5 separate regions of the Homo sapiens genome follow, and all the other regions are linked to region 1. The links are contacts of gene promoters, found by promoter capture Hi-C in human tissues and cell types (Jung and others, 2019). All regions are on one chromosome and are shown on one strand. The core of a region is centred on a gene start or on the middle of the fragment in contact, and the rest is flanking DNA. Distances in the headings are between cores, read along the strand shown.

Region 1 (6,358 bases), core at 1,900-4,399:
GATCTAACCCTAGGAAGACAGAGGTCCAGTCCATCCCCCAACCAGCCACCTACACAACCTATGTCTCACTCCTTCCCCACCACTTTCCCAACTCAGTGCTAAGGGACTAGAAGGGAAACAGAGACTTGAGTTTTAGGACCATCCCAGCATGTTGCCACAGACAAGTCCCCAGGCAGATGGCTTTGTCCATAAGTAAGAAAGAGAAGGGAGTCATATTTTATGGGGTCTGAAAGTCTCCGTTTGTGCCCCACCACCCACAGTAAACCCAGAGCTTTAAAGGCATTTACTTTTAGACATTGGCTTTGAGCTAAATTACTTGGAGCTATAGACAAAAGCAATGTAATCCTTGCCCCTTCAATATTCAATCTAAGAAAAAATAGAGGCTGGGCGGGGTAGCTCACACCTGTAATCTCAGTACTTTGGGAGGCAGAGCAGGCGGATCACCTGAGATCAGGAGCTCGAGACCAGCCTGGCCAACATGGTGAAATCCTGTCTCTACTGAAAATACAAAAATCAGCCCGACGTGGTGGCGGGTGCCTATAATCCCAGCTACTCAGGAGGGTGAGGCAGAAGAATTGCTTGAACCTGGGAGGCAGAGGTTGCAGTGAGCTGAGATCACACCATTGCACTCCAGCCTGGGTGACAAGAGCAAAGCTCCATCTTAAAAAAAAATAAAAAAAAAAAAATAGAGGCAGGCAGCCAAGAAAATGAGTCAAGGAATCACACCTCCCAACTTCTTAATGCTCTCTGTGGATACAGCTCTGTCACACCGAAGGTGTACCAAGGCCAAGGTATCTATACAACAGTCCTTGTGCCTGAAGCAGCCCTGGCTAGCTCCAGCTGCGCTCTTACCGGTTCACAGAGTAACTGCATGCACATGCATACCAGAGGCTGTGCTAAGCCTAAGGGATGTCATGGTGAGCAAAATTCAATCCCAGCTGAGAATTGAAACCCTCAGAGGCGAACTATCACAATATAGCTTAGTTACCAGTTGGTCCTTCTTGTTGAAAGGATACAGGGAGATAATCCATGGACAAACTGGGCCCATTTGGTGCAGTTTCCAAACTCTTTAGGGTGAGCTGGGCCAGGAACTCTGTGAGGACCTTATAAGGCCAGGATCCATGTGCTTAGGGCCCATTTTTGGAAAAACTGGTCATTGAAGCATCTCTACTTTCAGGGTCAGCCTGGTCTTTCAGAAAGGCTGAGGCCTATTTCCCCATGTTTCAAGGACATTTAACTATGTTTTTGTAAAAATAAAATGGCGAGACCCAAATAAAAACCTTACTTTTTGTTTAATTTGTTTTGCCAAACAAACACAGTGAAAACTTTAGTCTGACTAATTGTACAGAAAATAGAATTTGTAACCAGTAGCAAACAAAACAGGATAAACCTAAGTCCCTGGCAAGCTGGATCTCCATCAGCAGGTCATCCAGATCCCCTTGTAAATGGCCTCCTGGGAAAATAAGTCCTAGGAGGCAGAGGCACAGATTTACCAGTCCCCATCAGAATCACAGGCTGCACCTGGGAAGGAAAAGCATGAAAAGGAGGAGAACTGATGTTACTTGAATCTCTTATCACTACACACATTAGAGTTGTCTGACTGCTGACCAACCTTAAGGTATGGTTTTCCCAAACCTATAGTCCCTGGACATCCCACCTGCATCCCTAGAGGGTAAGTTTCAAGTTCAGTGGTTCTGAAGCCTCTGCTTAACCAGAATCTGCAACAATAACTGGGGAGGAAGGGTAGACAAAGTCATAATTGCTGGTGTCACCAGGGCAGAGTCTAAGGCCCCAGCTTCCACTTCAGGAGGAAACAATTGAGGATGCCAGGTCACCAGCAAGAGAGTCCAGCTGCCTTAAGCCTCAGTACTGTCAACCAGTGCCCAGGAGTATAGAGGAGTTCAACAATGGCCTGCGGTCCCCTGGCTGGATGGGGTCTGGGAGTCCAGCAGGCTGCCGGGGCACCAGTTCACATTCCGTGCTTCTTGCGGATGACAGCCATGGCAAGCAGCCGATCCTTCTCACGCAGTTCTTCGCGCAGCTTGGCCTCAGTGAGACGCAGGTGGCGAATGCTGCCTTTCATCTCTTTCATCTTCACTTCCATCAGAGCCAGGATGTCCCGCTGCTCATTCAGCTTGCGCAGGAGCTCCTCCTCCGTGGTGCCTGACGACAAGGAGTACGAATGGTCGGAGCCAGTATCAGGGAAGCCCTCTTCCCCTACCACCACCAACTGGGGGCCCATAGGGCACTCGGCAGCCTCCAGCCCTGCGGTAGCAGCCTGTAACTCCGACGCGGCGGCCGCAGCGGCTGCGCCCTCTGCGGCTGCAAACTCCACTTGCACTGTGAGATCGATGGGCTTCACGTCTTCTCCAGTGGGAGTGATGGGCGCCGGCTGTACGGATCCCGGAGCCTGACTGCTGTCTACAGTGGCCTGAAGGGTGAGAAGCACGGCCGCGGAAGCAGATACCAGGTTCGGCTGCAGCTGGGCAGTCTGGGCAGTGGAGGCAGAGGGTGAGGACTGCTGCTGCTGCTGCTGCTGCTGCTGCTGTTGCTGCTGCTGCTGCTGTTGCTGCTGTTGCTGCTGCTGCTGCTGTTGCTGCTGCTGCCTGCGGCGGGCGGCCGCGGCCCCAGCGGGTCTGCGCGCTACTTTGCGCTCATTGACGCCGCGCAGCGGGAAGATGGTGGGGACGCGTACCGTGTAGGTCTTGCGGCCGCCCTGGAAGTGAACGCTGCAGAGACGGTGGCCTGTGGTGGGCTGGAAGGTGGAGAAGCACCCACTGACGCCGGCACGCGACACGTTCTTGAGCCAGAGGCGCCGCAACTCAGCGTCCTTTGGAAACGTGTAGAAGTGCAGCGCCTTGTCCCGGTGCGAGTTGTTGTAGCAGCCTGGCACGCAGCACGTAAAGCCAGGCATGGCTGCGCCGCGCGGCCCGGCCCGGCCCACCGGCCTCCTGCGCTCTTCGACGGCCCAGTGGCTACGCCGCCGCCCGCCCCTCGACGGGCGGCGCCGCGCGAGGCCTTGGGTGGTATCCCACCACTGCCGCTCGGCGCAGCCGGCCCGCCCGGCGCCCCGTGCCCAGAATACGCTTCCTGCCGGCCCGCGCCGCGCCGCCCGCCTGGCTGCCCGCCTGCGCTCGGGAGTGGGCCCCGGGGACGCCGCGAAGGACCGCCTGAGAAAGAGACTACGCCCCCCACAATGCCCCGCGCCAGAAGCGGCTCACTTCCGGGGCGGGTGTGTGCGGATTCCTGCCGCCTTCCAAGGCACTGCGATAGCCTCCGAAGAGCAGATTCTTTCCCCAGCCCGTCTTGTCCCCGGCGGGCGAGAGAGGCGTATTAGGTTGGAACGCTGTCGCCTGGACTGCTCCTCACGAGGACCCGAATCCTGATAGGGGCGTGGAGCGGGGCGGTGCGCGCCTCACCGGTGCGCAAGCGCGGTGGGTATATGCCCACGGAGACTACAAATCCCGTGATGCCTCGCGCTGAACTAGGCGCCTTCCCTCCGAAGCGCCGCCTAAGGGAAAGATCGAGTTACTGCGGACCAGGATTCGGGCGAGGTTGTGCTGTTTGCCAGAACCAGTTCCCCAGCCCCGAGCCCCTTTGAGTCGACGGCATTGCTGCAGCAGAGGGAGACGAAACCTGGGCCTCGGCGCCCCGAAGGGTCTCAGGAGCCCCTTTCTTTGCGTTGGGGACTCTCTCCTGATTCAGCTGCTGCCTGCGTTGACTAACTGATCTAAACAAAGTCTCCAGTAGACGCCTACTATGTGGCTGACACGGTGCCGGGAGTTTGCGGGAGTCAGACCGACTGGGCTCCTCTCTTGGAGCCTGACTACCTAGACGGATAAGCGTCTGTCTTTTGGATAATAGATCTGAATGCACGCGAATGGATGTCTACTCACAAATAGTAATCGCTCCAAAGGAATTAACAGGAGAGCAGAGAAATGGGGGGGAGGTGGTGGGGGCCAGGAATAAAAAAACGAACGAAAGCTTGGGTAGGGAGAAGTAGCCAATTCTTGTCCCAGGAACCAGTCTGTAAGGCCACATGGCAGAAAAGAGCTAGGCTCCGCCATTAAAGAGCCTGGAAAGGGGTGGCCCGGGTAGGGCCAAGCGTAGGAAAATACCAAACTGGGACATGTTAAGGATTTGGGGTTTTATTCTGCAGGCCACTGAGAGCTATTAAAGGATTTTATGGGAAAGGATTTGCATTGTAACAATACACCTCCCCCCACCTCAACTTATTTGAGGGAATCTTTTTTTTTTTTTTTTTTTTTTTTTTTTGTAAAGGAGTCTCACTGTGTCGCCAGACTGGAGTGCAATGGTGAGATCTCGGCTCACCGCAACCTCCGCCTCCTGGGTTCAAGCAATTCTCCTGCCTCAGCCTCCGGAGTAGCTGGGACTACAGGCGCATGCCACCATGCCCGGCTAATATATATATATATATATATATATATATATATATATGTATTTTGTATTTAGTAGAGACGGGGTTTCGCCATGTTTCTCAGGCTGGTCTCGAACTCGTGAGCTCAGGCAATCTGCTCGCCTCGGCCTCCCAAAGTGCTAGGATTACAGGCGTGAGCTAGGATCACGGCGCCTGGCTGGGGGAAAATGTTTTAAAGAACACAAAATGTTGTGGAAAGCCAGGGAGGGGCCAGGCAGTTCTCCAGGTGAATTACCTGCAAACTAGCCCTCCTTTGCCGAGTTCTTCCTTCTCCCAATTTTTTTTAAACTTTTACTTTAGGTTCGGGGGTACGTGTGAAGGTTTACTACATAGGTGAACTCGTGTCACCGCGATTTGTTGTACAGATTATTTCATCACCCAGGTATTAAGCCCAGTACCCAATAGTTATCTTTTCTGTTCCTCTCCCTCCTCCCGCCCCCCGCAATTAGACCCCAGTGTCTGTTGTTGTCTTCTTTGTGTTCATGAGTTCTCATCATTTAACTCACACTTGTGAGAATATGTGGTATTTGGTTTTCTGTTCCTGCATTAGTTTGCTAAGGATAATGGCCCCCAGCTCCATGCATATTCCCACAAAAGACATGATCGTGGTCACCTCCCAATTTTTCTTGTCCTTTTTTCTCTCCTGATAGCAGATCACAGGCATGAAATAGAAACCTAATATATATTATTTCTTTTTTTTCTTTTTTTATTTTGAGACGGAGTCTCGCTCTGTTGCCCAGGCTGGAGGGCAGTGGCGCGATCTCAGCTCACTGCAAGCTCTGCCTCCCGGGTTCATGCCATTCTCCTGCCTCAGCCTCCCAAGTAGCTGGGACTACAAGCGCCCGCCACCGTGCCCGGCTAATTTTTTTTGTATTTTTAGTAAAGACGGGGTTTCACCGTGTTAGCCAGGATGGTCTCGATCTCCTGACTTCGTGATCCGCCCGCCTCGGCCTCCCAAAGTGCTGGGATTACAGGCGTGAGCCACCGCGCCCGGCCTCTAATGTACATTACTTCTAATTATATTATTGGACATAAAAACAAAATGGGGCCGGTGTAGCCCCTGGTAAAAGATATGCATTCATTTGGGTGAATCATTTATACAACGGTATAAACGTGAACACACATATTGCATTTTTACTTATGTATTTATTTATTTGAGATGGAGTTTCGTTCTCATTGTTGAGGCTGAAGTGCAGTGGTGCGATCTCGGCTTACTGCAACCTCCACCTCCCAGGTTCAAGAGATTCTCCTGCCTCAGCCTCCCAAGTAGCTGGGATTACAGGCGCCAGGCACCACAACCAGCTAATTTTGTGTACTTTTAGTAGAGACAGGGTTTCGCCATGTTGGGCTGGCTGGTCTCCCACTCCTGACCTCAGGTGATCCACCCACCTCGGCCTCCCAAAGTGCTGGGATTATAGGTGTGAGCTACCGTGCCCAGCCTATTTATTTATTTATTTATTTTTATTTTTCTTAGACGATGTCTCACTCTGTTGCCCAGGCTGGCGTGTAGTGGTGCAATCTTGGCTCACTGCAACATCCGCCTCTTGGGTTCAAGCAATTCTTCTGCCTTAGCCTCCCAGGTAACTGGGATTACAGGTGTGCACGACCACACCCAGCTAATTTTTTTTGGTTTTTTTTTTTTTTTTTTTGAGGTGGAGTTTTGTTCTTGGTCAGGCTGGAGTGAAGTGGCACGATCTAGGCTCACTGCAAACTCCACTTCAGGGTTCAAGCAATTCTCCTGCCTCAGCCTCCCAAGAGCTGGTATTATAGGTGCCCACCACCATACCCGGCTAATTTTTGTATTTTTGTAGAGCGGGGTTTTCCTCATGTTGGCCAGGTTGGTCGCAAACTCCTGACCTCATGCAATCCACCCATCTCAGCCTCCCAAAGTGCTGGGATTACAGGCGTGAGCCACCGCAC
Region 2 (6,358 bases), core at 2,782-5,281, 490 kb before region 1:
AGTGACTCACACCTGTAATTCCAGCACTTTGAGAGGCCAAGCTGGGCTGATCACTTGAGGCCAGGAGTTCGATACCAGCCTGGCCAATGTGGTGAAACCTTGTCTCTACTAAAAATACAAAAATTAGCCGGGTGTAGTAGCACGCGCCTGTAGTCCCAGCTACTCAGGAGGCTGAGGCATGAGAATTGCCTGAACCCGGGAGGCAGATGTTGTAGTGAGCTGAAATTGCCCCACCATACTCCATCTTGGGTGATACAGTGAGACTGTCTCAAAAAATAATAAAAATTAAAAAAAAAAAATTCAAGCTTTATGGTCCAGTGCATTTTAACAAGTACTTCTTGAGGGCCTGGTATTTTGAGTGTGACTGCTAATGTATAAGGGCACGGGGTGGGGGAGTCTGAAGCAGGTAGCCACCCCAGGAGCTTCCTAAGCCCTTTCCAAATGAACAAAATGGACGGATGAACACACGCTGCTCCCTGGGTTGGCTCTCCACAAGCCTCAGCATGTAACCCAGCTCTGGGGAACAGGCAACTTCAGATGCCACTTTTAAAAAGGGCTGAGAGCAGAACCTTGGAAAGTATACATCTGGAGCAGAAAGAAAGCAACACAGGAGAACCAAGATGAAGAGATGTCACTAAGGTCCAGGGAGAGTTTCAAGAAGGAAGGAATGGCAGAAGTACCAAAGCGGCAGTGGTTAGAGAGGAAAAGCAGAGGAAAGACCACCCAACTTGGCAATGAGGAAGCCACTTGTCAGGCTGAGGATCGGAAACAAAGTCACATTTACAAGGGATTATGGATGAAGCACAACTGACAATCTACTCACTTTACAAAAATTACCTAACTCCTTTACATGACAGGCCCGGAGCAAATAACGGAATGGAATAGTTAATACAACCCACGCAGTGCATGACCTCAGGATGCCTCAGCTGGGTGGGGATACAGACATTAAATACATAACTACATAATGATTTAATGATTGCAGTGGTAAGCGCTATGAAGAAAAGTATTACGAAATTGGCCAGGCGTGGTGGTTCATGCCTGTAATCCCAGCATTTTGGGAGGCCAAGGCAGGCAGATCGCTTGAGGTCATGAGTTCAAGACCAGCTTGGCCAACATAGTGAAACCCCATCTCTACTAAAAATACAAAAATTAGCCAGGTGGTGGTGCATGCCTGTAATATCAGCTACTTAGGAGGCTGACGTGGAAGGATCACTTGAATCCGGGAGGTGGAGGTTGCAGTGAGCCGAGGTCATGCCACTGCACTCCAGCCTGGGCGACAGAGCCACTCTATCTAAAAAAAATTTTTTTTTTTAATAAGAAATCATATGAGGGGCCTGGCCTAAGCTGAGGTGTGTGTGAACAATGCTGCCTGGAGGCAGAGTCAGCATACTTCATGGCCAAGGCTGCCCTGCAGATCAGTCTCCCTGCCGTCAAAATGGATAAATTTTCAAGAATAAATGATCTCGCCAGGTACAGTGGCTCCCATCTGTGATCCCAGCACTTTGGGAGGCTGAGGCAGAAGGACTGTGTGAGGCCTGGCGTTCAAGACCAGCCTGTGAAACAAAGCGAGACCTAGTTTCTTTTCTTTTCTTTTTTTTTTTTTTTGAGCCAGAATTTTGCTCTTGTTGCCCAGGCTGAAGTGCAATAGCGCAATCTCGGCTCACCGCAACCTTTGCCTCCCAGGTTCAAGCAATTCTCCTGCCTCAATCTCCTCAGTAGCTGGGATTACAGGCATGCACCACCACACCTGACTAATTTTGTATTTTTAGTAGAGACAGGTTTCTCCAAGTTGGTCAGGCTGGTTGCTACTCCCAACCTCAGGTGATCCGCCAGCCTCGGCCTCCCAAAGTGCTAGGATTACAGGCATAAGCCACTGCACCCAGCCGCAAGACTTAGTTTCTAATAAAAATTTAAAAAAACAAAAAAATTAGTTGGGTATGGTGGCGCCTGCCTGTGGTCCCAGCTACTCAGGAGGCTGAGGCAGGAGGATCACTTGAGCCCAGAAGTCGAGGCTGCAGTGAGCTGTGTTCGCATCACTGTACTCCAGCCTAGGCAACAGAGTGAGACTGTCTCAAAAAAAAATAAATAAATGAATCAATCTCCACTCTGGCCATAGTGGAATAAGTGGGATCAGGCTTACCCTCCGGCTGTTATCAACTAGAAAACTGGGCAAAATATATGAAACAAGTGTTTTCAGATGTTGAGCAAGAGGCAACACAGTTTGCTCCCTAAGAAGGGAAACAAACCAAGTAACCCTTACCCTGCTCTGGCTATCAGCCAGGAGACCCTTTCCAGACCACAGTATAGGGTAAGAGGTGACACAGAGCACGGCAGTCTTGCTGAGTTAAACAGACAGGAAACGAGTTCAGGGAAGTGGAAGCAGCTGGAACTTGCCAGGCAGAGAATCAGAGAGGAAATTACACAGAAAAAAAGCCTTCAGAATGCTGCACAGGGTTCCTCTAGGGTCTGTGTTAATACATTCACACACACACAGGGTAATACTCTGTGAAGCCGAGCAAAGGTTGCATGAGTGATAACAATCTCCGGAGCTCTCAGAGGCCTGGGAAACATTCAAGTTCTGATCAGCCAGACAAGGGAAACCCTGCTGAGCACCTAGAGCTCTCAGCAGACACTCCAGAAAGGTTACAGTAACTGTCTGGCTAAACAGCCTTAGAGCAGTGGTTCTCAACAGGTGGCAATTTTACACACTCGAGACCAAGGAAGACGTGGCAGTCTGGAGACATTTTTAGTTGGCAAGAATGGTGGGAGGAGGGGAGTGCTACTGACATCCACTGGGAAGAGGCCAGGGACACTGCTAAACATCCTACAATGCAAAGGACAGGGTCCACAACAAAGAATTATCAAAATGTCACATAGTTGGAGAATGCCAAAACGTCACAGCACTACTGTTGAGAAGGCCTGACTTAAAGCTACTCTAACCCCACTCCAAAGAAAGCTTAAACAAGCCCTGAAAGGATCAATCTGAACTGCAAGTAACCCAACTGCATGCCAAAGTTTAAAAAGCAAAACCAACGAAGTCTAGCACTCAACAATGGGGAATTCCAAATAGCCACAGCATCCAAACAAAAATGGTTAGACATGTGAAGAAGGAAAATGTGACCCAGAATAAGGATAAAAATGAGTCAAGAGAACAAACCCAGAAAAAACAAAGATGGTGGGAACAGAAGATAAGGATGTTCAAAAAGCTAAAATAAATGTGCTTATAGAAAACTATGAACATGAGAAAAATGGAAGTTATGAAAAAGAATCAAGTGGAACTTTCAGAGATTAAAAAATACAATATCAAAAATGAGGCCAGGCACAGCGGCCCACGCCTGTAATCCTAGGACTTTGGGATGCTGAGGTGGGAGAATCGCTTGAGCCCAGGAGTTTGAGACCAGCCTAAGCAACAAACTGAGATCCCATCTCTACAAAAAAAAATTTTTTTTAAGTTAGCCAGGCATGGTGGCATGAGCCTGTGGTCCCAGCTACACAGGAGGCTGAAGCAGGAGGACTGCTTGAGCCCAGGAGGTCAAAGCTGCAATAAGCCATGCTCACACCCCTGCACTCCAGCCTGGGGGACAGGTCAAGATCCTGTCTCAAAAAAAAAAAAAAAAGAACAACAAAGAAAGAGAAATGAAAAGTTTACTAAATATACTTAACAGCATATTAGATGCTGCAAAAGAAAAGATCAGTGAATCTAAAGACCTATCCAAGAAATCCCTGTCCATCAACAGGTAGAGAGATAAACAAGTTATGGTACATCTATCTAATAGAGTGCTGCTCAGTAACACAAAAGAACGGACCCCCAAGACATGAACAGTGTGGAAGAATCTTACCAGCATCACGCTATAAAAAAGAGAGCACACACACAGAAGAGTCCACACTTCTTTGATTCCACTTCCTTGAAATCCTAGACAGGCAAATCTAATCTATAATGAAGTCTATGAGTGGGTGCCTAGGACCAGGATATGGGGGGACTGATAGAAAGGGTTATGAGGAATCTCTTTGGGCATGATGGAGATGTTCTATTATCTTCATTATGGTGATGGTGGTTACAAGTGTGTTTATATTTGTCAAATATCCATAATGAAAATGGATATTCATTTAATGTAAATCATACTTCAATAACGTTGATTGTAAATGGAATGATTTGAGCACTCTATTGTATATTTTAAAAATAAAAAAGATAGGCCGGGCGCGGTGGCTCACACCTGTAATCCCAGCACTTTCGGAGGCCGAGGCAGGCTGGTCACCTGAGGTCAGGAGTTCGGGACTAGCCTGGCCAACACGGTGAAACCCCGTCTCCACTAAAAATACAAAAATTAGCCAGGCATGGTGGTGCACGCCTGTAATCCCAGCTACTCATGAGGCTGAAGCAGGAGAATCGCTTGAACATGGGAGGCAGAGGTTGCAGTGAGCTGAGATCCTGCCATTGCACTCCAGCCTGGGCAACAGAGTGAGACTCTGTCTCAAATAAATAAATAAATAAGATAGTACCCACTTCTTTTGTACATGTTTCAGATTCTCCATTAAAAAAAAATTGTTAAATGGGAGAATAATGTTGACCTTAGGTAGAAGCTTCAATTCAGAATGATACTGCATTCTCCAAAACCGTGGTGAAAAAGCCAGGTGCAGTAGTGCACACCTGTAGTCCCAGGTACTTGGGTCGCTGAGATGGGAGGATCACTTTAGCATAAGAGTTTGAGTCCAGCCTGGGCAACATAGTAAGACCCTATCTCCACAAAAAATTAGAAAAAACCCATGGTGTTATCCATAACTTCACCACAGTTTTTCCTTTGCAAATCTTTCAACTATGTTCTCTAAGTGTCAGTGGCATGTGAAATTTTCAAAGACTGAAACAAAGTTCTAGACTATAAAAAATATTCTGGAGGCCAGGCATGGTGGCTCACGCTTATAATCCTAGCACTTTGGGAGGCTGAGGCAGGCGGATCACCTGAGGTCAGGGGTTCAAGACCAGCCTGGCCAACATGGTGAAACCCCGTCTCTGCTAAAAATACAAAAAGCAGCCAGGTGTGGTGGCAGGCACCTGTAATCACCGCTACTTGGGAGGCTGAGGCAGGAGAATCACTTGTACCCAGGAGGTGGAGGATGCAGTGAGCCAAGATTGCACCACTGCAATGCAGCCTGGGTGACACAGTGAGATTCCGTCTCAAAAAAAAAATATGTGTGTGTGTGTGTGTGTGTGTACATATACATATTCTGGAAACCTTAAGAGACAATGCTATACAGGAAAATTGTTCATGTTGTATGCAGAAGCAGAATGTCAGAACTACTCTCGCCATTCTCCTGCCTCAGCCTCTCCAGTAGCTGGGACTACAGGTGCCCACCACCATGCCTGGCTAATTTTTTGTATTTTTAGTAGAGATAGAGTTTCACCGTGTTAGCCAGGATGGGTGAACCCAGGAGGCAGAGCTTGCAGTGAGGCAAGATAGCGCCACTGCACTCCAGCCTGGGCGACAGAGTGAGACTCTCTCTCAAAAAAATAAATAAATAAAAGAACTAAGTACTTTCTGCCTGATGAAACTCAGAGTTGAGCTTTGAGCAGTGGCAGTATCGTAGCCAATGAGGTTTATCCAAGGCGTAATTATTGGTAGTTGAAACTCAAGAGTTGAGCCCCATAAGAATTCCAATTTGCTTAAAGCAAATGTAGGTTTTGTTTGCGTCTCCATTGCTGGACCTGACTAGCTCTAGTCTACTCCTTGTTGACTAGTTTTAACTAGCAGGAAAATAAACATCAAGAGAAACCAAGTCCTTACTGTCAGAGCTCCACACAGAGAGGTCCCACTTCTATGCTATGACCTGGATTTGTTCCAGGTAACTGGAATAACCCTTTTCCTCTCTCACACAAGAGCAAGCAAAGCTTTCAACACAGGGTGTGTAAATCTCACCTGGACCTACAGTCACCTCGGTGGAATGCTTGTTGATAACCTTAATCTTATCACTAAAGCCATTTTTCTCCACAATCTTCACAGCAGCATCAGCCATAGGCTTGAAAACCTAGAAAATAGAGCCGAAACCCAAGGAAAAATGAGCAATAAATTAAACAGTAGTCTGACCTTTAAGGTGAGCAAGCTATTCCTTGATTCTGGTCCTAAGATATGTAACTTAAATACTTTATTCTCCAAATGTGCATCATGAAAAAGGGCTGAGATTCAGCTGGCTTTAACTTGTGATTAGGGACTCTCATTCCGTGCCAGGCACAGCGGGGATGCCGGGGATCCTGAGGAGGCTGCACTACTTAGTAAGAGCAGTAGGTGTCAGTACCGCACAAGAGGACGCCAAAAAGCCAGGAAAGGGACTTGCCTCACGAACCTGGGAGGCGTGCTGTGCCCTC
Region 3 (6,358 bases), core at 1,749-4,248, 470 kb before region 1:
GAGATGGGATCTCCCTGCTGTCCAGGTTGGATCACAGTGGCTATTCACAGGCATGATCATTACACTCTACAGCCTTAAACTCCTGGACTCAAGCGATCCTCCTACGTCAGCCTCCCAAGTAGCTAGACTACCGGCATGCACCACGGCACCCAGCTGCACTTTTACTTGCTGGTCAGGACCCATCAATGGGTTGCAACCAGCAGTTTAACAACATTGCTATAATCCACTTTATCTCATGTACTAACATTTATTTTACAGACAGAATATCTAGAACTGTCAGAATCTGTAATGTGCATTAGAAAACTGTGTCCAACAAATGTTGGAGTAGAGAAAGAAATGGCCATATCTGACTGAATGTTCAAGGAAGGCTTAAAAGGTGGATTCAGCTGAGGCAGGAGGAGAAGGAGGGGGTTGTGGACGGAGAAGGCATTTCATCCAATTAGAAAGGCTTAGACAATCATGCACATTATATCAATCAGTTTAGTGAAGTAAAACTGGACCAGGTGTCAAACATATCAATAGGATCCATATGGTAGAGTCCTGAAATACTAATCCTGTGGTCCATGTGGAATCAATTCTGAAGTCACTTCAAGGTTAAGAGTCATCGTTTTGTAGTTCATAAGCGTGATGACTGGGTGTTCATGTGCCTGTGTCAGACGTGCCTCCCTCAAACCTTTACTACATTGGCACGTTACCCATTTGAACTGGAGGAAAAAAAAAACTTATAGTGAAGAACTTTAATCCATAGGATTCCTTTCTTGTCTGTGATGTTGCTGAGTCTAAAACCAGGACCACAGTGTCTTTTCAAAACCTGGAACAGCCCAGGCACGGTGACTCACGCCTATAATCCCAGCACTTTGGGAGACCAAAGCAGGTGGATCACCTGAGGTCAGGAGTTCGAGACCAGCCTGGCCAACATGGCGAAACCCCGTCTCTACTAAAAATACAAAAAATTAGCCAGCATGGTGGCAGGTGCCTGTAATCCCTGCTACTTGGGAGGCTGAGGCAGGAGAATTGCTTGAACCTGGGAGGCAGAGGTTGCAGTGAGCCAAGATCGCGCCACTGCACTCCAGCCTGGGCAACAGAGCAAGACTGTATCTCAAACAAACAAACAAACCTGGAACTATGTCTTGTGTTAACAATTTTATGAAGGCATGAACCTCTTCTGGTGGGCACTACACACCTTCTCTGGCTGAATGCCCTCATCCATTATTATTTGTTCTCTCCCAGAAGCAGTCTACACTACAGATTCAGGAGATATTCTCTGAACCCCTCCTCATTCTCCAAGAGTTGTAAACTTGCATGGCCATTTACAAGGAGGAAATAGAAACCACCATGCCAAGCCCTAATTGTATTAGCCGTCAGACTGCAGAGCAGATGGTCCACTACATTCATTCAAAATGTATTTGCTAGGCGGTGGTGGCTCACACCTGTGATCCCAGCACTGTGAGGGGCCGAGACGCAAGGATATCGAGTCTGGGAGTTCCAGACCAGCCTGCGCAACATAGTGAGACCCCGTTCTCTACAAAAAATTTTTAAAAAAATTAGCCGGGCGCGGTGGCCTGTGCCTGTAGTCCCAGTTACTCCCAGCTACTCGGGAGGCTGAGGTAGGGGAATCACTTGAGCCCGGGAGGCAGAGGTTGCAGTGAGCAGAGATGGCGCCACTGAACTCCAGCCTGGGTGACAGAGTGAGACCCTGTCTTAAAAAAAAAAATATATATATATATATATATATATAAATATACATATATTAAAATTAAAAATTACCCGAGTGTAGTGGCGCGTGCCTGTAGTCCCAGCTACTCGGTAGGCCGAGGTGAGGATCGCTTGAGCCCAGGAGGTCAAGGCTGCAGTGCGCCTCGATCACACCACTGCACTCAGCCTAGGCAGCAGAGTGAGACTCTGTCTCGAAAAAATAAAATAACAAAATTTATTAAATACCTTCTATGTGCCAGGCACTATATTAGGGACTGGAGCCACCACCACAAGCTAGAGAAGACCCTTGCCCTCCAAGAGCTTAGACTCTAATGAGAGAGTAATACAAATTACAGACTACATGAATGCAAGAAATACACAGAGCGTTGTAGAAAGAGAAAACCAAGGTTACAGAAGGACTCTGAGGAAACTAGCATTTGAGATCTACAAGACAGACCGGGATAAAAGTTGGGGAAGAGTTTTTACAGGTCAGGAATCCTTACCCCAACTTTCCCAAGAAAAGGCCCTAAGGTAGAAAGAACTAGGTTGCATAAGCAAAATGTGCCAAAAGCCTGAGCGACCGAAGCACTTTTGCAGAAGCCCCCCGCTCCTCATCTCCTATCACATCTTCTGCTCAATCAAGCTGGGCCTTGTCGACTTCGGAAAGGCGTTTGGATTTTGTTCTAAAAGCACTGGGAGCCACTCAAGAGTTTTAAGCAGAAGCGTATCTACACTAGGCTTACGCTTTTACAGGACCACTCTGGTTGGCGTGTAGTGAATACACGACTCTCCAATTACTCAGAACAGTGAGTGGCAAAGACAACAGGTCTGGCAATCAGAGAACTCGTGGCCCAGTTAGGGGTGCGATGGTTGGAGCTACTGCGGTCTCTGTGGCTGAGGGGAGGCGCCAGGCACGAGTACTGCGACAGAGCCCCGCGAGTGGCAGGCACCCGGCTGCACTGCAGAGCCGGGGCCAGCCTAGAACCCCGCTCTCCTGCAGGCCCGGGTGTCCCGAGCTGCCCCACGCGGAGGAGTCCAAGTAGGCCCACGCTAGGCTCCTCTGCCGAAACCCTGGTGCCAAGGACACCATGCTCGCTGCACACAGAACCCCAAAGCGACCCCACCTTCCCAGCATACCCAGCGCCTCACCCGCCGCGGGAAACCCTCCGCTCGCCTCCGCTGCTACCACTTTTACCGCGGCCAGCACGCGGGGCGGGACCTCGCAGCGTCGAGGAGCGTGCTGGGGGGCGGGTCCTAAAGCAGAACTGGAAAGCTATCCCATCACACCCCGCGAGCTCCCACAGTGCTCAGCGGCAGCCACTATGGAGGCCGCCAGGACCGCTGTACTCCGGGTGAAGCGGAAGCGCAGTGCGGAGCCGGCGGAGGCTCTTGTGCTCGCTTGTAAACGCCTCCGGAGCGACGCGGTCGAGTCAGCGGCACAGAAGACGTCGGAGGGTTTGGAGAGAGCGGCGGAGAATAATGTCTTCCACTTGGTGGCCACTGTGTGCTCCCAGGTATTGGGCGTGGTGCAGCTGGTGTGGAGGGCATCTTCGGGTGCAGCCGGTACGAAACCCGATCCCTGACCCGCTCGCGAACTCCTGCTTACGCTGGCCTCCGTCCCCTGTTGCCCCCTAGGAGGAACCAGTCCAGCCTCTCCTGCGGGAAGTTCTGCGCCCGTCACGGGACAGCCAGCAGCGTGTCCGCCGTAATCTCCGCGCCTCGGCTCGGGAGGTCCGGCAGGAGGGCCGCTACCGGGTGCTTTCCAGCCGCCGATCCTTGGGGACCACCTCGAGCGGCCAGGAGTCCGAGTACACGCCGGGGAACCCAGAAGCCGCCGGGAACTCGGGCTTTCAGTTGTTAGACCTTGTCCACGAGGAGGGAGAACCTGAAGCCGCCTCTGCAGGCTCCTGCAAAGTGAGTATGCCCCTGAAGGTGGTCGCTGGGCTTCTCAGGATGGTAATGCAAGAAGACTGGGCCCAGTCGCAGCACAGTTTCATCTTAAGGGGATGGATGATCCATCCGGCGTGACGGCCTCATTTTACAGATTTGGTTGTTCATCCAACATGTGTTTACTACGTGCCTACGATATGCCAGGTATTTTTTTAGATTCTGTGGATACAGCAGTGAGGACCTAACATGCAGGTAGACAGAAACAGTAAACAAGTCTATTCAGTGTCAGATGATGATAAGGGATGTAAGGAGGCGGGGAGACAAAGCAGGAAGAGTGGTGCCACTTCAGTGAGAGTGTCACTGAGGAAATGACATTTGAGTGAAGACTTGCAGAAGGTGAATGGCAGGGTATTCCACATATCGAGAGGACTTCTAGGCAGAGAACCTGAAAGTAAAGAGGCCCTTAAGCCGTTTCTTTGCTCCTTGCAAGGTGCCTGGAGCCCGGTGAGCTAGAGGAGAGCAGTAAGGAATTTGAGGGGAGGATGCCTGCTAGGTACTTGCAAGGACATTGCCTTTCACCCTGACTGAGATGGGGATCACTGGAGCAAAATAGAGATAGAGCAGGTAGGAAAATTGATCAAAGAGAGGTTAAAGGAATAGTCCTGGATAGCATATCAAGTTTGAGGTAGATTTAGGTCTAGAATGCAAGTTTTCTCACATTTAATCCAGTGCTTTTCTTTATATTACATTTGCTAACTTCATTTGCAATCACTTCCAAAAAAAGTCTACTACATGCAGCAAAACTACAGAAATGGAAAATTCTCCTTGAGGCTGGGCACAGTAGCTGACGCCTAATCCTAGCACGTAGGGAGGCCCAGGCGGGAGGATCACTTGAGCCTGGGGAGGTCAAGGCTACAGTGAGCCATGATTGTGCGGCAGTGGCATTTCAGCCTAGGTGACAGAGTGAGACCCTGTCTCAAAAAAAAATAAAATACTCCCTGTAATCCCAGCGCTTTGGGAGGCTGAGGCAGGAGGGTCGCTTGAGGCCAGCCTGGGCAACAAAGCAAGACCTTGTCACTACAAAAAGGAAGAGGAAATTAGCTGGGCATTGTGGCACGCGCTTGTAGTCCTAGCTACTGGGGAGGCTGGGGCAGGAGGATCACTTAAACTCAGGAATTAGAGATTGCAGTGAGCTGTGATCAAGTCACTGCCCTCTGGTTTGAGCAACAGAGCAAGATACTGTCTCTAAAAAAAAAACCAGAAAATTCTCAACATAAAGTGTGCCCTCTCTTTTTTTTTTTTTTTTTGAGTCAGAGTCTCACTCTGTTGCCCAGGCTAGAGTGCATTGGCATGATGCTGGCTCACTGCAACCTCCAACTCCCGGGTTCAAGCAATTCTCCTACCTCAGCCTCCCAAATAGCTGGGATTACAAGCGTGAGCCACCACACCCAGCTAATTTTTGTATTTTTAGTAGAGACGGGGTTTCGCTATGTTGGCCAGTCTGGTTTTGAACTCCTGGCCTCAGTGATCCGCCCGCCTCAACCTCCCAAAGTGCTGGGATTACAGGCATGAGCCGCTGCGCCTAGCCAATATGCCCTCTCTTGATAAACATTTTTATAGAACTCATTTTAATTATTTTTGCAACTTAAAACAATTATAATTCAAAATGAATCCACAAGCAACAAGCAAATGGTACTAGTGTAATTGTTTATTGTTGTTTTTGTTTTGTTTGAGATGGAGTCTCGCCCTTGTCGCCCAGGCTGTAGTGCAGTGGCGCGATCTCGGCTCACCGCAGCCTCTGCCTCCTGGATTCAAGCAGTTCTCATGCCTCAGCCTCGCGAGTAGCTGGGATTACAGGCATGAGCCACCACACCCGGCTAATTTTGTATTTTTAGTAGAGACGGGGTTTCGCCACCTTGGCCAGGCTGGTCTTGAACTCCTGACCTCAGGTGATCCACCCGCATCGGCCTCCCAAAGTGCTGGGATTACAGGCGTGAGCCACCACGTCCAGCTGGTGCTAGTGTAAGTGGATAGCAATTTGTGTATGATGTCCATAGCCACATCTTTCACCAAAACATTCCAGACTAATGCATGACTTACAAAATGTGTAAAGTAAACCAATGCTCCGTGGAATTGAATCAAGTAAATAGTTCACTAGGCCGGGCACAGTGGCTCATGCCTGTAATCCCAGCACTTTGGGAGGCTGAGGCGGGTGGATCACTTGAGGTCAGGAGTTCAAGACCAGCCTGGCCAATATGGCAAAACCCCATTTCTACTAAAAATACAAAAATTAGCCGGGCGTGGTGGCGGGCGCCTGTAATCCCATCTACTCGGGAGGTTGAGGCAGGAGAATCGCCTGAACGCGGGAGGCAGAGGTTGCAGTGAGCCAAGATTGCACCACTGCACTCCAGCCTGGGCGAGAAGAGCAAAACTCCATCTCAAAAAACAAGAGTAAATAGCTAATTTAATTTTATAAAGAAAACTAGGAGATAAACTGATGACCGATATGAACAGAGATTTTTCCAGTAAAGCAATACCGACTCTAAACATACCAAAAATGTTTGCACAGAGTAATTATAGGGGAAAAATGAATTTAAGCTTAAAGCATGCTTGAGGTTTTATGCATACTAGACTAGCAGGAAAAAAGTAGTTGATAGCAATGCTGGCAAGGCAATGATTAAAAGCGTACACAATTGTAGGAATAAAATTGATGCAAGCCTTTTGGAAAACAGGATGGCATGGGAGCCATGTTTTACATATGTAAATTTATTAT
Region 4 (6,358 bases), core at 1,239-3,738, 410 kb after region 1:
GTTCTGACCTGAGCTGACCACAGGCCTCAGCTCTGTGGTCCCAACAGTCACCCACATCTTGCACACCCTCTTGCTCACGTGCACACCCTCAGATACCTGTACACACTTCCAACCTGGCTGGATGTTCTCACAACGGGCTCAATCCCTACCACCCATTGGCACACACATGTGCACATGTGTGCACACAGGCACCTGATCCTCAGCCCAAACCCTGATCCCACAGCTGAGCTCCAGGAGTAGCCTTGGCAAGTGATTCTCTGGGCATTCTTAGGAGGGAGAGGGGGAGTAGCAGCTCTGCCAGGCCCAAAACACAGTGTTCTTGGCAGGTGGGGCTGAACCTGGTTACCTACTTGTCTTCCAGCCGGGTGTTGAGAGACAACCCCCAAGTGTTCGGGCCCTGGGAAACTTGGAGTCTTACTGATGCTTGTACAGGGCAGGTTGGGTGGTCCTCTCTCCCCCAACCCCAGCTTTGCAACCAGAGATTGGAGGAGCCCAAGTTAGAGAAAGCATCCTTCCTCTCACCTCTCTCTCAGGCTCAAGGCCAGAAGCAACAGCAGCAGCACAAAGGCCTGAGGTGAGACCTCAGGAAAGACTACCCAGCTAGGCCACTAGTACCTGCAGATGGCCTGGGTCCTGTTGAGGTGGCTCACAAATAAAGCAGGAAGGGATCTGCCCTGTCCCCAGAGGCAGAGCCCACAACCTGGCCCCTACTTCATACCCGGGGTGTCTGTTGATTTTCCTTCCTCAAACCTCTGAAACTGGGGTCTGCTGAGGCTTCACACTGCGCCTGGAACCTGGGTCTCTCCTGTCCAGCCCGAATGCTTCCCCATCTCTACCATCTTTGCTGGAGTGCAAGGCCCTTGTGCCTCCTTCCCCCCTACTCTGCCTCAGCAGTCTGGCTTCTTACCTGATTCATGGCCCCTCCCAAGGAAACCACCTCATATCCCCTTCTCCCCACCCCCACACCCAGACTGGCTGTCCCCTACAGAGACCGTGTGTACTCCTGCCTTAAGCCTTTGTCCCACATCCTTTCTCTGATCCGAGATCCCTTTCATACTCCACTTATCTCCACTCATGCTCCAAGGCCCCACTCAAGGATTTCCTCCTCCGGAAAATTCTCCCAGCCCCATCTGATCACACAGGGCCCCTACTAGACCGAGGTCTCTGAGAAGCCAGGTTGCTGGCTGCCCCAGCAAAGGCCCAGCGCAAGGACAAAGCCTGGAGCACCTGTCCAAAGCCGTGGGTATTGGCGAGAGACCAGGCTGCTCCTCCCACGATGCAATGGAGTCAGTGCCCCCTGGCCTTTCTCCCCCTCCCCACTTCCGGCGGGCCTCCAGCCCCCCCCCCCCTTCCCCTTCCCTCCCTCTGGTGACAGATTTATTCCCTGCTCCAGACAAAGGAGCTCAGCTAGGCGGCCAGAGGCACCTGAGCCCAGCTCTCTAAGAGCTCCTTCCTGGGCACAGAGGACCAGGAGGGCTTGGGGGTGGGGTGCTGGGTGTAGGCTCCAAACTACTGCCTCAGCAGTTTGGCAGTGGGTGGCTAGACAGAAAGACAGCTGAATGTCCAGCTGCCCCTCACGGTGACCTCTAGCTTTTCTGAACTCCAAGGATCCCAGCCAGTGGGGGATGGGTGGGGTGGGGAAGTTCCCCATCTAAGCTCTTCCCTCTGGCCCGAGGAATGGGAGATGGGTATCTTAGGTGGGGATGTCAGGCAGAGTTCAAGGGGTAACGATCCTCCCTTCTCAAGGCCTCCGAAGTCCCCTGAGACTGCTCTCTTGGGGAAGGGAATGGCATAAACTCTCAAACTCCAGGAGGTTCCCTCTTCTCAGCCACCAGTCAGTTTCCTTCTCGAACCGGCCCACTCCCTGTCTCACTTTCCCTCCAACACTCCCCGCAGCGGCAGGTAGTGAACCCGGGCTTGGGGAGGTGCCCGGCGCTCCCTATTTGGCTCGCTCCCTGCACCCAGGGGTGGAGAACTCTCCCACTCTTGCGCTGAGGAGCCCGCCTTGGCTGTGCCCATGGGGAGTCAGTCCTGTTGAGTGTCCAGTCCCGCCCTCGAGCCTGGAGTCCCCGCGCTCCGCGACCCGCGCACTCACCGGTGATGAGCACCGCGCGAGTGGCCACCGGCAGGCGCTGCGGGCGCGCCAGGCGGGACAACGCGATCCAGCCGGCGGCGGCCAGCACGGCGAGTGCGGCCGGCGGGGGCAGCAGGCGCTGGCACAGCCAGTCGAGCGCGGCCAGCAGCGCCAGCGCCGCCAGCAGCGGGCGGCCCAGACGCAGGTCTGAGCGCAGCAGCTGCAGCAGCGCGCGGGCAGCCACGAGCAGCCAGGCGCCGCCCGACGGCCAAGGCCAGCGCTCCATGGCGGCCCAGCGGGCTGGGGCGGGGCGGGGCGGGGGCCGGGCCGGGGAGCGGGGAGAGAGAGCTTCTAGGCCGGGGCGCGGAGTGCGGGGGTACACCGGCCTGGGGCGCGAGAGGGACACTCGCTTTCTCTGCTCGCCCTCGGGCCGAGCTTATGAAGAGCCCCGGGGGCGGGGGAGAGGGCGGGGAGCGGGAGGGGCGGGGGCGGGGCTTTCCTTCACTTCTCTCCCGGCACCCCCCGCAGGGCAGGTGCTCCCCCCCCGCCCCGCCCCCTCGACCAGATTCGATTTGGAAAAAGCCGGAACAAAGTCCCAAAGTTGCTGCGCTCGAGGAGCCGCCTGGCTGCGGGCGGTGCTTGGGAGAGGGCCCGTCGGTCCAGCCCGGGTGCCCGGCCTCAGCTCTCCGCCGCGCCCCCACCCACACGCCCGGGGCCGCCAAGCCGCCGCGCTCAGGTGAGCACATGCCACTCACGCTTGTTCGGGACACCTGAGGACACGCACAACCGGCATCCCGGTGCCCTTTGCTGATCGCACCACCGCGGCCGCCAAGCCTGCAGGAACACCGCGAGGAACCAGCCGGTGCTCACCCGGTCTCCGCTGCCGCTGCCGCTGCCGCCCGCGCCCGTACACGCGCCGCACTCCCACGTGGTCGGCTGCGCCAGGTCCCTGGCGCACACACCCTAAGGCGCGCTCACCCCTGAGCAGCTCGCGGCCACAAAACCTGCCTGGGACAGGGGCTGGCGGGGGAACAGGACGACCGCTCCCGGTTCTTGGAGTCTCTGCCCCGTCTTTCCCTTTCCTTCCAGGGCTTAAACCTGGGGACGCACAACCCCACTTCCTGCCTCACAAATGTATGTGTGTGGGGGTCAGTGGAGGGTGGGGTGTCAGAGGAAGCACCTAGGTCTCCCATTACTTATGGCCCACCCCCGCCAACCCCAAGAGCCAGGCCAGAGGGACGTCGGTGAAGGCAGCCTCTAGGACAGGGTGGTCCCTGCCTTGCTCCCCTGAACCCCCAGGGGGTAAAATAAGTGGTATGAGTGTGGGTGGATTTTTCTGCCTGCGTGTGTGAAGGTCTCCATGCTTGTGTGTGGCCCAGTGGCCCCCCACCCTGCCCACCCCCGTGTCTGGCACCCTGTGCCTAGCATCCATGCCAGGGCTCTGCCAGGCACTGGGAGTTGGTGCCAGTACCTGGCTGCAGGCTTGATGCTGAGAGCAGTAGGTGTAGCCCTCGACAGAGGGGTCCCTGCTTCCCGTGGGCTTCCAGGCCGTGCTCAGTGCCTCATCCCTGCCCTCCCAAGATCCTGGGAGGTTGTGGACTCCCTGTCACACTTCCTAGCCCTGTTGCTCATTCTCTCTTAGGTGCCCAGGCTCTGCCAGGGTTTCAGGGCAATGCCTCCTCCAAAGCCCTCTCTGCCACCAGACACAGCCCCCTGGTGAGCCAGGGAAATCTCAGGGGAGGCTGGGAGCCAGACCCACCTAAAGGGAGAGTCTCTGGGTGGAGGACCAATTTGCCCTGAGCCACTCCTGTGCCTCCACCTATCCCTCCTCCTAAGGACAGATGACAGGCAAGCCCCAGACCTGGGAGGCAGGACTTGAATGAGGAGGGTGTGTGTGCCTGACCTTGGGTACATGACCTTGTGTGCCTGTGTTTGTAAGCACTTGTGTCCATGGGACTCTGTGGCTTGTCCAGGCCATTTGGTTGTGTCACTCCCTATGCCATGACCCTGTGTGTGCAAGTGAGTACATTTGTGTGCATTGTGTGTGTTTCTGGTAACTCTCTGTCCTTCGGTCTGGGTCATCCTGCCTCTAGAAACTCAGGGAAACATTCCTTTTCCAAAGTCACTGATTCCTGTTGCGGTGAATGTATGGCCCAGGCTTGGAGGCAGACACAGCACCCCTGGCCTGACTTCCTGATTTGAGCTGTAGAGATTGGATTGGCCAGACCCCCCAGCTTTAGCCACCACACCAAGAGTCTGGCTGTGGTTTCTCCAGCCTCAGTCCATTGGAGTCTTCCCCTTGGAGTGAGGAAGGGAGTAGAAGCTGAGATGAGGGTCCTGGGGAGCCTTCAAGGTCAAGGCAACACAGATAGAACCAGCACTTGCTAAAGCAGGAGTTGAAGAGTAGGGGGATGGGGCAGGAAGGCAAGATAAGGAAAGAGGCAGAAGCAGGGTCCTACACTGTCCTGGGAAGGAACCGTGAAGGCCACCATGGGGACAGACTTGCCAGGAGGCGATGTTGGGATTTGCGTTTGGCTGAAGAGTATAACATGGTTAGGATGAGGAAGGGGGTGTTTCCAGCTCAGCTTCTGGAACCTCGTGCCACCTCAGGCAGAGCCATTAGTCTTATGGGATTTGGGTCTTGGTGGGACTGGACCATCTGCCACATTTTTATATAAACTCCCCCTGCCCATTCATCCCACTTCCTAGTCCAAGCCTCCTCCTTCCCAGGACCTATGCTCCAGCTCCTGTGGCCTCCTCAACCACTGACCCCTTATCCCTTATTAGGTGGAGACGTTCTAGAAGTACAAGGTGGTTAGGGCAGTCATTGCTGGCAGAAGCTGGCCCAGCCCTGTCTGAGGCCTGTTGCCAAGTCGTGCCTGCCTAGGGGCAGAAAACCAGCCTCTGCTAGAAGCAGGAGTCTAGGCTGTCAGGGGCCTCCAGGGAAGAGAAGCGGAGAGGGGCAGTGGGCAGGAGCCTCAACAGATAAAGCAGGGCCTGGCAGGGCAGAGGAATGAAGGGTGACCAGGAGCAGAGCACCTGAGCCACTCGGCCCCTAAGCCCTCAGCCCACAGCCTCCCTTAGTCCTTTGTCCCAGCCTCCAACCCGCCTTGGTCAGAAACCTGGTTAACCAAACCCTTAGCACGCCCCAGGCTCTGGAGGACAAAGGGGTGGGCAGGCGGGCTCTGGTCTCCTCCAGCGGAGTCCAGCAGCTCACTGGTACCCTCTGCTGGCCGTGTAGGGAGAGCACGGCTCTGAAGGAGCTAAAGACCAGGTAACCCACCGGCTGCTGGGTTGAGGAGAGGGGAACAGATGTCTACAGTAGGGGGTACCAAGTGGCAGACTCCAGGAGCCCTCTCGCTCTGTCCTCTGACTGTACTTGGGTTCCTGGAGCAGAGCACTCAGCACTGACTTGTCACCTCCTCTTCCCTCTGCAGCTAAGAGGCTGCAGATTCCCAAGGAGCCCCTGCCCTGCACTCTGCTTCACGCCTTCACCCCCACCATGCCTCCTCTTGGCAGAATGGCAGAGGGTCCCTCTTCCTGCCAGTGGCCAGGGTCCTAGACCCCATTGCTCCCTGTCCTCAAAGACAACAAACTTGTATTGAGTTCCTACTGCATGCCAGGCCCTGTGCTGGGCACCACAGATATAGCAACTGACTACTGGCCCCAGCAGCAAGTGTACTGGCGCTAGCCTCACCCATTGGGAACCTCAAGCCCGTATCCCTTTCCACAAGCATCTCTCTTGTGGCTGGGCGTGGTGGCTCACGCCTGTAATCCCAGCACTTTGGAAGGCCAAGGCAGGCGGATCACCTAAGGTCAGGAGTTCGAGACCAGCCTGGCCAACATGGCGAAACCCTGCCTCTACTAAAAATCCAAAAATTAGCCAGGTATGGTGATGCATGCCTGTAGTCCCAGCTACTCATGAGACTGAGGCAGGAGAATCTCTTGAATGTGGGAGGCGGAGATTGCAGTGAGCCGAGATTGTACTACTCACCGCACCCCAGCCTGCGTGACAGAGCAAGACTCTGTTTCAAAAAAAAAAAAAAAAAAAAAAAAAAAGCATCTCTCTTGTGTTTTCTCCTACTGTTTTCAGCTGCATTTCTCTAAAGTTGTCCATAATCACCATCACCACTCTCCCCTCCCAGCCTTTGCCTGGGACCAGCTCCCAATCGTAACCCCCTAGTCCCCAAATCCCATAGACTCATCTCTGGCTTCAGCTAATTTGGCCTCTTCAAAGCCTCGGCCCTGCTGACCTCTCTTTCCTGCCCCAAGCCCTGTCTCCCT
Region 5 (6,358 bases), core at 1,785-4,284, 310 kb before region 1:
CGGGGTTTCACCATGTCAGCCAGGCTCGTCTCGAACTTCTGGCCTCCGGTGATCCACCTGCCTCGGCCTCCCAAAGTGCTGGGATTACAGGCGTGAGCCACTGTGCCCGACTTAGAATGGTATTTCTTAACTTGGACAGTATCACCCTCTGCAGGGGAGGGTGGTGGTGGAGCAGAGGCATTTTTTAAATGTTGTGAAGATGCGTTTAGTTGTCAACATGATAAGTGGGGTGCACTACAGATACTTAAGGAGAAAGGGCCAGAGATTCAACTTTATCTCAATACATGGGATAACTATAGTTCTTCAAAGTGAATAGTCTACATCTCACAGAATTTGAGAATATCCCATCAGACATTCATGTATAAGGAAAATGTTTATAAACTTAGAACTCCTTAGTATATATTAATACCCCCAAAAGATGCAATTTTAAGATACATGAATTTTTCATGAGTACAACTTACCATGTAAAGAGTTCATCATTTCAAAAAATCATGTCATTGTCAGTAATGCCACTCAGGGAATTTAGGGTGATGATCAACACGCCTGCCTTTGTACCTGGCAACACTCACACTGATAGTGCAGGTGTTAAGTGTCCAACTACTTCACTGTGTCTTCTATAGTCATTATCAAGCATGTGTAAGCGTCCAACTACTTCACTGTGTCTTCTATAGTCATTATCAAGGCTTTTCACTTTGAAACTTTTTTTTTTTTAAGATGGGGTCCCACTGTTTTGCTTAAGCTGGTCTTGAACTCCTTGACTCAAACGTCCTCCTGCCTCAGCCACCCAAGTAGCTGTGATTACAGGTGTGAGCTACAATGCCCAGCCATACTTTTAAACTACTGTATTAGTCCATTCTCATACTGCTATAAGAAACTGCCCGAGACTGGGTAATTTATAAAGGAAAGAGGTTTAATTGACTCACAGTCCCCCATGGCTGGGGGGGCCTCAGGAAATTTACAGTCATGGTTGAAGGTAAAGGGGAACCAAGGCACCTTCTTCACAAGGTGGCAGGAGGGAGAATGAATACAGGAAAAACTACCAAACACTTACAAAGCCATCAGATCTCATGAGAACTCACTATCAAGAGAACAGCATGGGGAAGCCACCCCAGTGATTCAATTACCCCCATCTGGCCTCTCCCTTCACACGTGGGAATTATGGGGATTACAATTCAAGATGAGATTTTGGGTGGAGACATAGCCAAACCACATCAACTATAATTTAGTTTATATATTTATTTTTCTCTTAATAGTACTGCATTATAACTGATATTCTTAAAATTATACGTGTAGTCAATTATATCACTTTTTTTTTTTGATTCAGGGTCTCGTTATGTCACCTAAGCTACAGTGCAATGGCACAATCATAGCTCAACACAACCCTGAGTTTCTGGGCTCAAAGGATCCTTCCACTTCAGTCTCTAGAGTAGCTAGGACATCAGGAGTGTGCCACCAAACCTAGCTTTTTTTTTTTTTTTTTTTTTTTAGATATAGAAGTCCCACTAGGTTGCCCTGGCTGGTCTTAAACTCTTGGTTTCAAGTGATCCTCCTGCCTTGGCCTTCCAAAATGCTGGTATTACGGGCATGAGCCACTGTGCCTGGCCTAATTGTATTATCTTTAAATCTCCATTTCAAGTTAATAAAGTAGCATTACAAAATGGATGTGGGGCTTTTTTTGAGAGTGGGGCTGGGTCTGATAGAGCTGAGAGACACTGATCTAGAAGACTTGTAACCAAAGAGGCACAAAGACCTCAGGATATAACCACCAAAGGTTTATAATAATGTTTTGCAACGGGCAAGATTCTTTATTATAATTCATACTGCAGAAACAATTCCAGATTCAAGGAAGATGACAAATCGTAATTCCAACTACCCTTCTCAAAGGATATAAGTAGAGCATATAAAGCAGGGAAAAACAGCTAATAAATAAATGGAAAAATGCTCAATCTTATTAAATATCAAATAAATAAGAAAACTACTTCTAACCTATCAAAAAAGCAAAGAACAGAGAAGTGGTAATAGTCTACACAGACAACTTTTCCCCTTTGTGGCTGTTTATATGATTTGCTCATTTTCTGTTTCTATTTTAGTATTATTAATTTTACAAGCCCTTTAGATATACTAAGCATATTAACCCTTTGTCTGCCTTACAAGTTATAAATATGGTTTTGTTTTCCATTTATCACCAATTCTGGATCAATTTCTGCTCCTCAGAAGGGAACCATTTGTAACCCTTTTCACTGTTTCTTTTGGAACTTACTTCCATATTTCTAAGGAACATGTTAATACTGCTATTTCCTAATGTTTTTCAAGGTTAGATATATTATCTTTTGAACTTTCAGTGTTTGCATTATAACTGGATACATGTTACTTGCAGCTCAGCCTTGTAGTGTATTTTAATTATATTTCCTTTTTCATACAACTTATTTGGTTACAGTTAATAATTGCCTTTTATATTAGGATTAAGTTTGGCTGCATAAACAAAAATCCAAAGTAACAGTAATTTAAACATGTTAAAAGTAAAGTTTATTTCTTAGAATCTACAGGTCTCTTCTACTGGACCAGTGAGTTTGCCTAAAACACATCCTGCAGTCTTCTGCCTAGGGAGCATAGTAAACCTATTGCAAGCATTGTGGGAACTAATAAAATGGTCAGAGGTCTCACTCTTCAGTATGCAGACTTCCATTATGCCTTCCCTTCCGCCCCCACCCCATTTTAAGAACAGATCATTAAGCCTAGCCTTTAGCTCTCCTAGAATCTAGAACCTCCACTTCATTCTCTCTATAGAATCACCAGATTCTCTCAGGGTAAGACAGGCATTATCACTAGGCTGTACCACACAGGAAAGAAACATCTGGGAAATTTAAGTCCTTTTTAAATTCAATTTAATTTTTTTTTCTTTTAAGATGGAGTCTCGCTGTGTTGCCCAGGCTGGAGTGCAGTGGTGCTGCAACCTCCACCTCCCAGGTTCAAGCAATTCTTCTGCCTCAGCCTCCTGAGTAGCTGGAACTACAGGCATGAGCCACCATGCCCGGCTAATTTTTTTGTATTTTTAGTAGAGACAGGGTTTCACCATGTTGGCCAGGTGGTCCCAAACTCCTGTCCTCAAATGATCCACCCGCCTCAACCTCCTAAGGTGCTAGGATTACAGGTGTGAACCACCGTGCCCGGTCTTAACTCCTTCTTTTATAGACTTTTTATCCAATCTTCTTGTTTTCAGTCTCACCTCACATCCCACTTTCAGAGATATCCAGTACGTCAAATTCCTGAACCTTTCCAGAGTTCTCAGATGCAAAATGACTTGTGCTGCTTGCTTATTGGTTCTTTCTCACCTGCCAGCAGGCTTAAGCTACAGCTGTCTTATGTTTAGTGAAAGTAAACCTGTTCAATTTATTACATTTATGTTTCCATTTTCTGTAAATATTTTAATTTTTATGTAGTCAAGAAATCTATCAGTATTCTCATTTGTAATTTTTTTACACATTTTAGTGTAAAATTAATAAATTTCAAAGCTTTAATTATGGAAACTATTCCATAAAACTATAAAATGTCAATATCATCACAATAACAAAAATAAAGCCTAGGTCAGGCACGGTGGCTCACACCTGTAATCCCAGCACTTTGGGAGGCCTAGGCAGGTGGATCACCCGAGGTCGGGAGTTCGAGACCAGCCTGACCAACATGGAGAAACCCCATCTCTACTAAAAATACAAAATTAGCCGGGCATGGTGGCGAATGCCTCTAATCCCAGCTACTCAGGAAGACTGAGGCAGGAGAATCGCTTGAACCCAGGAGGCGGAGGTTGCAGTGAGCCGAGATCGCGCCATTGCACTCCAGCCTGGAGTGCAAAACAAGAGCAAAACTCCATCTCTAAATAAATAAATAAATAAATCCTAAATAAATCAATAGCTAAAAGGAAACTGGAAAAGTTTGGGCATATATTTTATGTGTATCTGTGCAAAAACAAATTTCAGCCATTACTCTTTTGGTTTATCTGGCGGCAGATGGGGTAAGTAATAATGCCACGTGAGATTCATCCAGATTTATACCCAGAGGTAAAAAAAAATGAAGGTAGAGAGTGGTTATAGTTCACTGCATCCAAAAACTCCTGTGGACTATATGTCTTTTTTTTTTTTTTTTTTTCAGTTCACAGATAATCTGAAGCTAACAATGATTAGGCAACTTCCTCACATTCATCTATTCAGTGATTAGTCATTCCTTTTTGGTATACCTGTTGCTCTTTCATGTTTAATCATAAATTTAACAAATTATTCTACATGACCAACTGTTCATCAAGTGGAGAAATAAACAGCAACAACTTTACCACTTGCCTGTGAGCACTGTGAAGAGGACAGTATCCATCTTGTTATCTCCAGAGCCTAGCAGAGCGCCTAGCACATTACAGGCATTCAATCATTGTTGAAAGAATAAATTTTAGAATAACAGAGTACAATTTGGTGAAGCAAAATAACTCATGAAGTTAGTCAATACATTATTTCTAAAAGAACTGTAGGCAATTTGCTCTTATATAGAAAAAGAAAAAACCAACAAAAAAATTATAGGCATTAAAGTAGCTCGTCAAAATGAGGTAGTTAAATCTAAAATAGAGAATATAAATAAAAAAGTTTGCTATTACCTATTAAGTTATCCAGATATCAAATAACATACTGGCAAGTACTCTATACCAAAGAATCCTAGTCATATTAGATGGCTGACATGTATAAGAGCTTCACAAAGTCATAAGCCACTTGCTTTTTATACTTTGATAAAATAAACTGATGTTGGGGGAAGGTAATCACTCATATAAGATTTCAAAGGGAATATATTTCATAACACATATTTTGACCAACATCTGTTCCAGATGTATAATACCATAAGAAAAATAGGGCTATGCCTTTCTATCTGAGAGACTTTTAAAGGAAGATCAAATAAACTAATTAGACTATTATCCCATCTGATTTCCAGAGAAGCATTTATGTTGTAGGCAATAAATAAATTACTACTACTGTTAACACTAGTCTCTAAAAACTTTCACCAGTATCAGTAATCTCTTCAGTCCACCCTCTGCTTCGCAGAAGAAAGTAAGCCAAGTTGTTTGTTATGTTTCTGTATCGTTTCCATAGCAAAGGTCTGTGCCTGCTTAATTTAACTAAAGCTGGAGGGTTAAAGCCTGAAGGTCACTACAGGACAGACTACAGCAACTTCAATAAGAGCAGTTCCATTATCAGTTCTGCTGATTAGTTGGGGGAATGGGCTCTAAATATATTAGACCCATGACAACACATTGTAGAAATACTAAAAATACAAAATTAAATTTCTATAATATAAATTGCTTAAAATGAAAGTATGCATAAAAATGAAAAAATAATACAAACTTCATTTTTCAAATTTCAGTAACTTTTGGGATAAGATTCAAAATATGTATACCTTAATAAAACTTACCACTGTATAATATATAAGCTTTTTAAAAAAAATCCTTTTTTTTTTTCTTTTGGGAGACAAGGTCTTGCTATGTTGCCCAGGCTGGCCTTAAACTCCTGGGCTCAAGCAGTGATCCTCTTGCCTCAGTCTCCCAAGTAACTGGGATTACAGAATCACATCACTACACCTGGCTAAAACTTTTATTCTTCTTAAATAATTAGACTCATAGGAAGTTGCAAAAATAGTATGTATATGTACTACAGGTTGAATATCCCTAATCTGAAAATCCAGAATGCTCCAAAATCTGAAACTTTCTGAGCACTGATATGACACCCAAAGTAAATGCTCACTGGAACATTTTGGAATTCAAATTTTTGAATCAGGGATGCTCAACCAGTATGTATTCTGGAAATATTCCAAAATTTGAAAAAATCCAAAATCTAAGACACTTCTGACTTCTGATCCCAAGCAGACAAGGGATACTATAGCCCCATGTACCCTGCACCTAGTTTCCCCCAACTATAATACAGTACATATACCCACAATATTGAACTGTAGTTAGCACAGTATCAAAACCAGGACATTGACACTGATACAATACTGCTAACTAGACTACAGGTCTTATTCAGTTGTCATTGTTCTACATGCATTCATTTGTATGTGTGTATATAGTTTTATGCAATTTTATCCCATATATAGATTCAAATAACTACTACCCCAGTCAAGATATGAAGAAATTCTCTTGGGCCACCCCTTCATATTTGCACCCCTCAACCTGACCCTGTTTCCTGGCACCAATCTATTGTCCATCTCTACAGTTCTGTCATTTTGAAAATATTACATAAATAGAATCATATAGTATATTGACTTTTTTCCACTCAGCATAAGTCTATGGAGAACTGTCCAAGTTGTTGCATGTATCAACAGTTTATTCTTT

Evidence for each region. Contacts are between HindIII fragments. The study calls those that stand out against the background at their distance.
Region 2: a fragment that was not itself captured here is called in contact with the fragment with the promoter of THAP11 in region 1 in 4 of the 25 tissues and cell types used here (dorsolateral prefrontal cortex, hippocampus, lymphoblastoid cells and 1 more).
Region 3: a contact is called between the fragment with the promoter of SLC7A6OS here and the fragment with the promoter of THAP11 in region 1, in 1 of the 25 tissues and cell types used here (stomach).
Region 4: a contact is called between the fragment with the promoter of HSD11B2 here and the fragment with the promoter of THAP11 in region 1, in 2 of the 25 tissues and cell types used here (ovary and spleen).
Region 5: a fragment that was not itself captured here is called in contact with the fragment with the promoter of THAP11 in region 1 in 3 of the 25 tissues and cell types used here (aorta, lymphoblastoid cells and spleen).

What each region holds. Positions count from the first base shown.
Region 1 is chr16:67,839,111-67,845,468 of GRCh38, reverse strand. It overlaps THAP11 (THAP domain containing 11), which reads right to left and starts at 3,149. Exons shown (of 1, transcript NM_020457.3): 1 at 1,274-3,149. The coding sequence starts at 2,914. The coding sequence ends at 1,970. All of the region lies in intron 1 of CENPT (centromere protein T), which reads left to right. RefSeq lists enhancers at 1,826-1,875, 2,316-2,475, 2,187-2,933, 3,386-3,435 and a silencer at 2,956-3,135. The HindIII fragment of the contact is 20,232 bases long and covers 1-6,358 here.
Region 2 is chr16:68,328,729-68,335,086 of GRCh38, reverse strand. It overlaps PRMT7 (protein arginine methyltransferase 7), which reads right to left. Exons shown (of 19, transcript NM_019023.5): 6 at 5,913-6,021. It also overlaps the pseudogene RNU4-30P. Among named protein-coding and RNA genes, the nearest start is that of PRMT7, 21 kb to the right of the region's middle. The HindIII fragment of the contact is 4,800 bases long and covers 1,632-6,358 here.
Region 3 is chr16:68,307,586-68,313,943 of GRCh38, reverse strand. It overlaps SLC7A6OS (solute carrier family 7 member 6 opposite strand), which reads left to right and starts at 2,998. Exons shown (of 5, transcript NM_032178.3): 1 at 2,998-3,209; 2 at 3,331-3,609. The coding sequence starts at 3,018. It overlaps PRMT7 (protein arginine methyltransferase 7), which reads right to left and starts at 2,925. Exons shown (of 19, transcript NM_019023.5): 1 at 2,845-2,925; 2 at 1,768-1,902. It overlaps LOC124903789 (small nucleolar RNA U13), which reads left to right and starts at 604; the gene lies at 604-705. RefSeq lists an enhancer at 3,029-3,993. The HindIII fragment of the contact is 13,375 bases long and covers 1-6,358 here.
Region 4 is chr16:67,427,251-67,433,608 of GRCh38, reverse strand. It overlaps HSD11B2 (hydroxysteroid 11-beta dehydrogenase 2), which reads right to left and starts at 2,488. Exons shown (of 5, transcript NM_000196.4): 1 at 2,096-2,488. The coding sequence starts at 2,360. RefSeq lists silencers at 2,370-2,549, 2,770-2,819 and enhancers at 4,525-5,059, 5,060-5,594. The HindIII fragment of the contact is 17,409 bases long and covers 1-6,358 here.
Region 5 is chr16:68,145,541-68,151,898 of GRCh38, reverse strand. The region is part of intron 3 of NFATC3 (nuclear factor of activated T cells 3); the gene reads right to left. Among named protein-coding and RNA genes, the nearest start is that of NFATC3, 63 kb to the right of the region's middle. The HindIII fragment of the contact is 8,254 bases long and covers 1-6,358 here.